2 separate regions of the Homo sapiens genome follow, and region 1 is linked to region 2. The links are contacts of gene promoters, found by promoter capture Hi-C in human tissues and cell types (Jung and others, 2019). All regions are on one chromosome and are shown on one strand. The core of a region is centred on a gene start or on the middle of the fragment in contact, and the rest is flanking DNA. Distances in the headings are between cores, read along the strand shown. Region 1 overlaps ABCD3 (ATP binding cassette subfamily D member 3). Region 2 holds the start of CNN3 (calponin 3).

Region 1 (5,393 bases), core at 997-3,496, 450 kb before region 2:
AGAAGTTTTCCTAGTGTTAGATTTTGCTTCTTTTGCAACTAATGCATTGCATGTGGTGGTTTGCAGTGGTATCATTGGTCGTAGCAGGAAAGATTTCAAGAGATACTTACTCAACTTCATCGCTGCCATGCCTCTTGTAAGTTTAATTCATTAAAAATCTTTTTAACACGGGAAATTTGCATCTTATTAAAATCTTTAAGGGTTTTACTTATTAAATTCTTTAAAGACTTATGATACTAAGTTCCTATTTTCAGTTTAGTTTTGTAATTTATAATATAATTTTCAATGTAAACCTTCATACTAGATAAAAAAGGGATTATGTTTGGTTTAATTTCATTTATAATGTGTATATATATTCATATACATATGTATGTGGGTGAGGGGTTTTTTGGCATTTTTTTTTTAACCTTCAGTCCAGGTTTTCTTCAGTGTTTAGCATCATCAATGACCATTAGATAGCAGTAGCACCCTTCTCCTAGTTCTAACAACCAGAAATGATTCCAGTCATTGCAAAATGGGTATGGGCAGGGGGCAACTTGGGGAGTTGGGGGGATTTAGAGGGGGGAATGCAAATCATCCTGGTTACTTTAGGCCATAAACTATTACAGTAACTTGAACTACTAATTTACTTTAAGTTAAATTGGAATTTATGGTCTGAATTTTTTACAGATAAATTGTTTAGTCTAAAATATAAGTGATTTTCTTAGGTTGGTTCTCATTTTAATTTTCTTGGCGCTGTAAGAATGTAATATTCTGAATTTGTGGGTAAAAATGAGAAGCTTGGTTGTAAAATCCAGTTATGTTGAAATTGCCAGAAATTCTTGTTTAATAAAGCTGGAAGCTGGGGCTACATAGCTTTTAGACTTTTTAAAATAAACAATTGGAATAAGCAACATAGATATCAAAGATTAAGATTCAGCAAAGACCACTTGAGAAAATTTGTAATGTAACGATGGAAAATGTTAGTAAAGATGGCTCTAGAAATAATCTGGAAAATAGCATTAGTTGGTGTAAAACCTGTAGTGTTTTTTTTTTTTAACAAATGCAAATATAGTGTATATAGAATTCCGTTGTCTAGGGTTGTAGTGCTGATAGTAGGAAACAGAAAATATAAATGTCTGAACTCCTAAAAGCAAGTCTTTACATTGGCTAGAAAGGGGATATATTTGACTTTTTGCCCGTTTACCAAAAAAAATGGGCAAGGTATGTCGCGTAATTAGTGATATTAACATATTCCATGTAAACTTTAACATAGAATAATTCAAACGAGGTACATTTGGTTTAGCTAAATGCAGTAAAGTAAAACAGAACTGAATTATATAAATTTGGACTAAATTATAAAAATTGTAGGATTTGGGACACAGGAAATAATAGAGAAATAAATTATAGTTTAGTAAGCAGAAATGAAAAGCAAAACCAATAATATTTGTTTGTTTGTTTTAGATCTCTCTGGTTAATAACTTCTTGAAGTATGGGTTAAATGAGCTTAAACTGTGCTTCCGAGTAAGGCTCACTAAATACCTCTATGAGGAGTATCTTCAGTAAGTGATAACCTATTTTTATATTAAAAATATTTAAATAGAAGAGTATTTATGAAGCTGATCAATATAGCAGTTTTTCTTATTTATTGTATGTTTTCTAAGAAAACCACTCTTAGGTACAGAAGCATGTTGGGAACAACCTTTCAGTTATTTGGAATCTAGTCCTGGCTCTTCCATTAATTGACAAGTCATCATTTTCTGGACTTGTGTCCTCCTCTCTAAAAATCAGTTAGGGCAATCAATAGGATCTCTTCTGGCTCCAAACTTTTTTGTTTCTATGTATTTGAGCTAGGTGGTGTAATATGATTTTTTTGTTGTTGTTTTATCTTTAAAGTCACTTGTTTTAAAATCACTTTTCTTCTTGCTATTTTAGAGCTTTCACATATTATAAAATGGGGAATCTGGACAACAGAATAGCTAATCCAGACCAGCTGCTTACACAAGATGTAGAAAAATTTTGTAACAGTGTAGTCGATCTGTATTCAAATCTTAGTAAGGTAAGTTTCTCTCCTTTTTAAAAGATTATTTGTTTAATTTTTTGAATTTTGAATCTAAGCAAATTTATATAGAATTGATTTTGTGGACATAACAGCAGCATGTAAATATTTAATGCTTTTATAAGAAAATTAGAGTTGTTGTAATAGTTTTAATTATTTTAATTTTTTCTATTATTTTTGTGAGGTACTTTGGCAAAGAACTGATAATTTAGTGTCTTATAAGGATTTTCTAAGAATTTTGCAGGTTGATTCCATTAAAACAACAGAAATTTGAATTCTCATCTTTTGACCTGTGTGCATCCGGCCATTGTTAGAGATTGACTGTCAATTTATGTTTCTAACTCCACACTTATAACACTAGACTAGGACTTCCTTTCTGCCCATTTCTCTGCTTCAGTATCTTTAATTCTAATAGATCATTAGTAAGTAGTAGTCAAAAAATTTCACAAGATGCAAGTATATTTCAGTTTTCTAATTACTGTTTTTCCCATTCTCCTCAGAATATTGCCAAAGCTCCTGACTGTGATAGGCCTTAGTCAGTTTTCCTTCTTCTCACTGATTTCTCCAGTTCTTATCTTAGTCATGTTATCTCACCACCCTTACAGCTTTTGCTGTAGTCTTCTTATTAAACCCTCTTCTTTGCCATTACCTCTTGCATTGACTATGATATGTAGTAGGCACCTATAAAATAGTCTGCCCAGCATCCCCTCCCCTCTTCATCTGAGATGCTTCAGTTCCCACTCTAACTCATGTGACTTCCCTTGGTGTTGGCTAGGAGCTTGTCTCATACTGGACCAATGATAGTATCTTTGCCTCTGGTCACAGTTGACCTAGATATACAGTTTTGAGACAAAAGAAAACCAAAACTATAAAAAGGACTGGGTCACATTGTAAGAATAGGAATGTTCTTGCTTCAACCAGATGGATGGAGGGAAGGCAATTCTTAGAGATATATATCCACAAGAGCTGCTCTCCTCATGCCCAGGCCCAATGCTTTTCACTTCCAGCCCAACTTTGTTATTTATTTAGCTCTCCAGAAGCCTTTGCTAACTGATCCCAAACTCGGGAACTCTGACAACTACAAATAGTTCAGTAATTAAGCTTTCTTTTCTGTTCCCATTACCACATTTGAAAGTTTGTTCTCTCTCTTTCTCTCTCTCTCTGTCTCTGTGTGTGTATGTGTGTGTGTATGCATGCATGCATGGTGGGAATGGGGGGTGTATCTATACAACTTTCCATGTAATTTTATAGACATTATTATGTATTCTTTAAATCTTGGCACTTGAGCAAGTCTCAGGTTTTGTCAAATCTGGAATACAGAAGAATATTAAATTAAGTACTTGTAGTGGGGCTGTACACCAGTGTGTAAGTTAGATGTTTTAAACATCTAATTGACCTCCAACTTAAATTATGAGTCATTATTTTTGTCATAAGTTTTAACAGTTCTTGAATTTTATAAGTATCTCTAGCTTCTTGATAACTTATAAGGCAAAAAAAAAAAAAAAAAAAAAAAAAAAAGGAAAGGGAAAGGTAGATGTTGAAACAAGCCAGTTAACAAACCAAGCCATCTATCCTAGTAATAATGTGGATTAGAAAGTGCTGGCTGTTGGCCGGGCATAGTGGCTCATCCCTGCAATCACAATACTTTGGGAGGCCAAGGTGGGCAGATCGCTTGAGCCCAGGAGTTCAAGACTATCCTGGGCAACATGGTGAAACCCCATCTACAAAAAATACAAAAATTACCCAGGCATGGTAATGTGCGCCTGTACTCCCAGCTACTCCAGAGGCTGCAGTGAGCCAAGATCTCCAGCCTGGGTGACAGAGCCAGACCCTGTCTCAAAAAAAAAAGTGGAGGTGCAAGCAGTGGCTGTTGACTTAAAGTGAATGAACACAATTTGTGTTTCTTGAAAAACATTTCAAACTAATGCAGCTGATGGTGCATTAGTTGAGTTGTCTCTGTGTGTAAAGAGCAGTACATTAATGTGTTATTTTGGTTCTAGAGACTTGAGTTTTATATCACAAAATTAGATTCAATGGCTTACTTGATTATTTTGCCATGGAAGTGATAAAGTAATAGAGTCAAACAATATTGGAGCAGGAAAAGCTCCTCACTTTACAGGTGAAGATATGTAGAAACAAACTGGTAGCAGATTTGGGGTTACATCTCAGGTCATTTTATTCAGTGTCTTTACATTATATTGACACATTACTGAGTTACTAGTGGTTAATTATCACAGTAGAGGTATCTTAGTTGATGGAAAGTGATAAATGTTTTTCCTACTTGATGGTCAGTAGACATTGTGTAAGCTGTTCCCATTTTAAGTTTCTTGAGAGGAAAACTGTTATCTTTCATGTATTCTTTGATCTACTTACTATCACAGTACATTGTACATAGTGGGACCTCTACATGTTGATAATTATATATTAAATGTTTAATGACATTTTATAGTTAACATGTTGTATTAGCTATCATTCTAGTGCTTTAGTTTTAATTCTGTGTATTCTAATATTTATTTTACAGCCATTTTTAGACATAGTTTTGTATATCTTTAAGTTAACGAGTGCAATTGGAGCTCAGGTGAGTCTGCTTTTATTTCAACTTTTAAATTGATATAATATAATATTTGAAATACATATTGTGAATAGCTTGATGGCCTGTAAGAATTTTTGTAGATCTCAAAGAATGTATTTTCACATGATTTACCTAACAAAGTCTGGTTATAAAATAATACTTCATTCGAGATTTTAGAAGTACTAATTTTTCTTTTTAATTTTCCTTAAATTAGGTACTTGGAAAAATTTTGTGGCATTAAAAACCAGACAAATGTATTGGCCAGGCGTGGTGGCTCATGCCTGTAATCCCAGCACTTTGGGAGGCTGAGATGGGAGGATCGCTTGAATCCAGGAGTTCGAGACAAGCCTGGACAAAAAGCGAGACCCGCTTCTTTAAAAAATAATAATAAAACAGAAGTTCTTAAACCATGAATATACTTGTACTTATTGTTTCAAAGTAATGTCTAAAAAGAGATATGGAGACATCCATTTTAATATGAAATTCTAATGTTAAAATAACGATACATTTAGAGTGGGTGTAACAGTTCCAAGAATATTTTATAATGTAAATGGTTGGCTATCCCATGAGCCTTATTATCCAAGTCTCTGATATTTGTGATGGCAAGAATCACTTTTAAGTTTTCTTTGAGTTATCTTATTGAAATGTAACTTTAGTCATTTAATATGTAATGTTATTGTTACATATTTATAACACAGCCATATAATAGTATGGTTGTTTTACATATGTGTATGTGTGTATATGCATTTCAGTTGATTAATAAATTATTTCCATACTGGTTTT
Region 2 (5,411 bases), core at 1,134-3,633:
ATTCTTAGAATAGTCCAACTTCTGTGACCTTGAGCAAATCTTTCTGAGCTTCAGTGTACTGATCTGTAAATGATGTTGGATAATCCCAGCAATCCTCCTCACCTTACAGGACTGCTCTGCTGTTAAGATCAAAAGACTTCCTATGAAAGAATACTGTCTGAAAGGACTACAAAAATGAAACGGGTTATTAAAAAATGGGTTTGGTGCTTAAAGGGATAAATCCACAGCTTTCATAACTAACTTTCCAAAGGTTCTAAAAACTGAGGTTTTACCGTTTTTAAATATTTACAATAATTACAGTGATCTAGCCTGTGTATGCATTTCCTTGGATCTGCTCAGTATTAAGCAGGAAAAGGGCAAAAGCTGCTACATTAGTCAGCAAAAAAGAAATTAGCATGGATATTATTAACATCCAAGAAAAGTAAGTCACTTGAAGGGCTGCCAACGTTATCAGTACCTCATTTACAATGCAAAAGGTAGTAGAGACTCAACTGCTGCCAGCCAAGAATCACTGGGGGGAATTACAATGAATGTGCACAACCAGGCCAAAGTATCACATCACATCCAACATTTTGGACATGCCCATTCCTCTGAAGTTTCCTAAAGTTCGGTTTGTAAATCCTGGAAGGAAGGAAACAGTAACTTGTTACAAACTTTTCAGTTGGTGAGGTTTGCACTCAATCATACACAAACCATTCACCTTTCTGCTCTCTAAAAAAATTGTTAGCAAACTGTTGTCTAATACGGGCAACACGTTTGAAAAGGTAAAGGACCTAAACATTTCAACTTTAGATACATAGACTAAAATCAACTCCTTGCTTCAAAGACAGTATGATGTGCAGACTAACAGCGGGAGACAAGAGCCACAACTCTCCCTTGGGGTTTGACAACGGTGCGCTTCATTACCTCTTTACATAATTCGCTTCACACCGCCTACCCCCGCAGCCCCGGGATGTTCCAGCTCTGACAATGCCAGTGCCTTCCACCAGCGGTCGGACGGTGCGGTGGCAATCCTGACATGCTTGGGCTCCCGGGAGGTTAATGGGAATTAAACCACAGGCAGCCCTCCTTTGTGGCGCTTTGGCCAGAACAGCAGAAAGGAGACAATGAGCGTTCTGTGCACAGTTCCGCGCCGATTGGCTGGTCTCTCCCCCCAGAAACCCCTGATGTCATGGGCTTGGAATGCAGGGAGGGAGGAAGGAAGGAGAGGATTTGGGGAGGGGGACGCCTCTCATCTCTTTCCCAGGCCAAAAGTCCTAAAGATAAACCTAACGCATTCTTGGGCTCAGTGGCAAAGCTGAGCGTCACCAAATCCCAATCGCTCCAAACTATAAGCCGCCTCAGCAAACAAGCCCCAAACAAAAGCAACCCACAAAAATAATCCTTTATGTCGTGAAAGTCTAATGTACTTCAAACTTCTCAGTGTTTCATAAAAAGTCTCAAGCCTAAGCAGATATCACTCGCACAGTGGCGCGCTCAGGCTTTGTCTCCATTTCCCGCAAAAGCAACAGCAGAAGCAGCAGCAGCAATCTGCCTCCAAATGCCTCCCAGGCACCGAGATCGGAGACTGTGATGGGTCCCGGACCGGCTTCCGTTCCTCGGGGCCCCTGGGGTCGGCGGGACATTAGGCGGTCTCTCTCCCCGTGGGGAGGCGCGGAGTCCGCCAGCACCCGGGGCCCGGGCAGATGGCGGGGGCTGCGGCAGCGGCTCGCCGGGTCCCTGGCCGCGCAGACGGGCTCCGCCTAAGGGCGAGTGGCCACGCAGGAGCGCCCCCTTCCCGGAGGGCGCGTTCTGCAGTCACCAAACGGCCCCCGAGACCCCCGCAGCCGGAAAGGCTGGCGCCGCGGGACTCCAGGCGCCCGGGAACCCACCGCCAGCCACTAGTCCTGTCCCACGGCGCGGGAACAAAGCCAGGCGGGTGCCCGGGAGCCGGCCCCGCAAGCCCGGGGACTGGACGCGACCGGGACAGGCAGAGACGCTCGCGCCGCCTCGACGGCCCCTCTCCAGGAAAACGGTGAGCCACAGCGCGAAGAGCAAACGAAGCACGGCCCAGCGCCAGGCCAGCCCAAGGGTGCCCCGGGGGCCCCCGCGCCCGCCCGAGCCAGGCGTACCTTGTTCTTGACTTCGGCCGAGAGCCCATAGGAAGGGCCCTTGTTGAAGTGGGTCATGGTGGTTCGGGCGGCGGGAAGAGACAGCGCTGGGGTCCGGGGTCTCTCGCACTTCGCTTCCCCGCTCCTGGCCCCGAGGAGTGGCCGCCGCGGGGGATGCTCGAACTCCCTCCTCTGGGAGGCGCAGGAGACGGCCGCGGGGCGCGGGCGGTGCCTGGGCGACTGGGTCCAACTGGGTGCTACAGAGCCTCGAGCTCCGCTGCGAAGCACCCGGCTGCCTCGCTCGCCGCCCGCACCTCGGTTCCCCACAGGCCGCCCCCGCCTCCGCCTGGGCCTTCGAGGATTGGCCGCCGGGCCCGACCAATGGAGGGCCGCCTCCTCCCGCCTCTGCGCCGAGGGGCGGTGCGGCCAATTGAAGGGCCGCGGGGGCCGCTTTCCCTCCCGCTCCCTCCCCGCGAGGTCCCCGGCCCCCGCCCCAGCCCTCACGCCACCGGGGCCGGCGGCTAGGCGGCCCCGCCCCCGGGCTAGGCAGGGCGCCTGGGGGCTTCCCAGCCACAGGCCATTCACGTCAACCTCCAGGCATCCTCCGCGGCGGGCCGGACCGGGCCGGCGGAGGGGAGCGGAAGCCCACCGGGGCTGGCCCGCCGCTGACCCGCCGCCTCCGTCTGCCTCCTCCCGGGCTCTGGGCCCAGCGCGCCCAGATGCCGGGCAGGACCCCTCCGCCCGCTGCTGGAACACCAATAGCAGCGTTGGAGCCTCTGGGCCGGAGGAACTGGGGCCTCCACCGACACCTGCTTCTTCCCTCACCTCGCAGCCTTCCACACCTGTTGATCTGACCTCTGCCCCGCTGCCGCCCAGGAGTAACCTAAGGCTTTTGGCCTGATTCGAGCTCACTCCGTCTAAACCTCTAAATGCGGTGCGAAAAAATCCTGGGGAATGTGCCATGCAAAGCCTGGGCATTTCAAGTGCTTTTCTGGATTCGCATCAACTCCTCTTTACAGGCATCTTTATCCGGAATTCAGCTCGTCCCAAACCCCACGTGGTGTAGCTCTGCTTGTGTTTTTGAATCCCGGGGCCTCTTTGAATCAGAAGCCCTTTGTATAGAGATAAGTATCCTTTAGGCCAGAATCAGCCTCCATTTTTTTCGCAGTCCCATTTCCTACCCGTAATACTTTCTTCTGATTTTAAAGCCATTTGATAGAGAAGGGACAGGGAACAGAACCTTCGCCCCCCGCCTGAGCAGCTGGTAGACTAGATATCTTCCAAACATTATCTCATTTACTTCCCTGGAGTTACAAATAGGTAGATTTCATGTCCGTTGAGGGGTGAGAAAGCTGAAACTTTGAGACTTAAGAATCCTGGCCGAGGTCAGCCTCCTCCGAAGCTTCATCTCTTGCCACCACTTTCTGGTGCACACCTAGGACAGATTTCAATCCCTGAGATCCCAGGATGAAACCTATGTTTGCCAAATACCAGCTACTGTGCCAGAAGAGATCATGGAACCAGGTGTGGAAAGCTGCTTGAGAAGAGGAGCCAAAACATCATAGTTGAACCGTCCTGGAATAGAAGTGAGTAAGGTGAACCAGGTGTGGTGGCTCATGCCTGTAATCCTAGCACTTTGGGAGACCGAGGTGGGAGGATTGCTTGAGGCCTGGAGTTCAGGAACATCCTGGGCAACATAGCAAGATCCTGTCTCTACAAAAAATCCAAAGTTTTTTTAAATTAAAAAAAAAAAGTGAGTAAGGCAGCTTGAACCGGAAATGCACAAAACTGCTATCCAGTTTGCAAGGCTTTTCCCAATGACTTTGAGGGATGGAACCTGAAGGAAGCGGGAGGAGGCAAATAGGGAGGAAAGTGAAATGATTTATAAATGACTTGCTAATTTTGTCCAAAGGGAGTAATGATAATTAGGGCATTCTTCCCACACGAAGATGACACAATTGACCCAATATCATTGAGGCTAACAGTTTGGGCTGTTTTTCCAGTAGTATGACAGTGACGGTGTGTCAACCGCAGGACCTCACCCACATTTCTTTGGGACCTAGGAGTGTGGGAAATAGCAGCCAGATTTGAGGTACAAATCATGGTGTCCAGCCTGCAAAGCCTTTTTGCAGCAATCTAAGCCTGACTGCTCCTGTTGTATGCTCAAAGTCATTTTAATCTACTTTAGCTTATTGTAAAATGTTCAAGAATTGTATTTTGTCTTGAAAACCATGAATTTTATTGTTTAGGGGGAGTTATTTTTTAAGGAGTGCAGGATTTCAGTTTTGGATGATGAAAAAGTTTTGAAGATGGGTAGTGACAGTGGTCACACAACATTGTAAATGTACTTAATGCCATTGTACACTTACGTGACTTTAAAGTAAACATGAAATTTTCTACATTTGTTTGTTTGATCAACTGTTATCCTCCCTAAGGTACTTGAAGTTCTTTCTGACATTGCCACTGGAACTTACTATTTAAATATTGTTGGTCCTCTTGGATTCCATCAGTACTCCAGAGACTTCCTTCGTTTCTAATTTAACTCATTGTGTAAGAATACGTAATGCTGTTGTTAGCACTAGGGAATGTATCTGAGTCTCATGCACCAAAGTGTGTTAGCAGCAGCAAATCTGTATGGGTCTGCAGCAACCTCAATTCTTGCCTCCTCCAAAGAAAGAATTCTACCGAGAGGCATAAGGCAGAGGGAGAGGCCAAGGCACGTTTTAGAGCAGGAGTGAAAGTTAGAGCAAGAATGAAACGAAGTAATGTACACTTGGAAGAGGGCCAGGCGGGCAACTTGAGAGATTCAAGTGCGCTGCTTGACCTTTGACTTGGGGTTTTATACATTGGCATGCTTCCAGGGGGTTGTGTCCCTTTTCCCCTGATTCTTCCCTTGAGGTGGGCTGTCTGCATGTGCAGTGGCCTGCCAGCACTTGGGAGGGACCACATGCTCAGTGTGTTAACTGAGGTTGTACGCATGCTCACTTGAGGCATTCTTCGCTTACTAGTCAAGTGTTCCTAGAAGAAGGTCATATATGAGTACCAGTTAAATGCCACCATTTTGCCTCTTAGTTCACACCTGTGAGCCCACTCAGCCAACTCCTAAGATCCTATCCAGAAGCTGCTGATCACCAGTTGTAGGTATTTTCTAGCCATTGGGAGACTGCCTTTCCCTGGTGCCGGCTGTGACCAGTTATTATTTTAGAGAGACAGTTTAACAACTGCCTGACCACCTGATGGTTGCGTGACATTCCTGGTGGGAGCGGGGAGCCCTCTCCTGCTCTGCTTGTGTCTGACTACCTACTGTGGCACTATAGAATC

The links. The method cuts DNA at HindIII sites, captures the fragments that hold promoters and counts their contacts. A contact is called where the count stands out against the background at its distance.
Region 1: a contact is called between a fragment that was not itself captured here and the fragment with the promoter of CNN3 in region 2, in 1 of the 25 tissues and cell types used here (hippocampus).

The regions. Positions count from the first base shown.
Region 1 is chr1:94,473,700-94,479,092 of GRCh38, forward strand. It overlaps ABCD3 (ATP binding cassette subfamily D member 3), which reads left to right. Exons shown (of 23, transcript NM_002858.4): 5 at 67-136; 6 at 1,444-1,541; 7 at 1,915-2,038; 8 at 4,560-4,616. Among named protein-coding and RNA genes, the nearest start is that of ABCD3, 58 kb to the left of the region's middle. The HindIII fragment of the contact is 6,153 bases long and covers 1-5,323 here.
Region 2 is chr1:94,924,727-94,930,137 of GRCh38, forward strand. CNN3 (calponin 3) reads right to left here and starts at 2,384. Exons shown (of 7, transcript NM_001839.5): 1 at 2,112-2,384. The coding sequence starts at 2,168. It overlaps CNN3-DT (CNN3 divergent transcript), which reads left to right and starts at 1,634. Exons shown (of 3, transcript NR_168377.1): 1 at 1,634-2,014. RefSeq lists silencers at 1,492-1,921, 2,022-2,901. The HindIII fragment of the contact is 8,752 bases long and covers 1-5,411 here.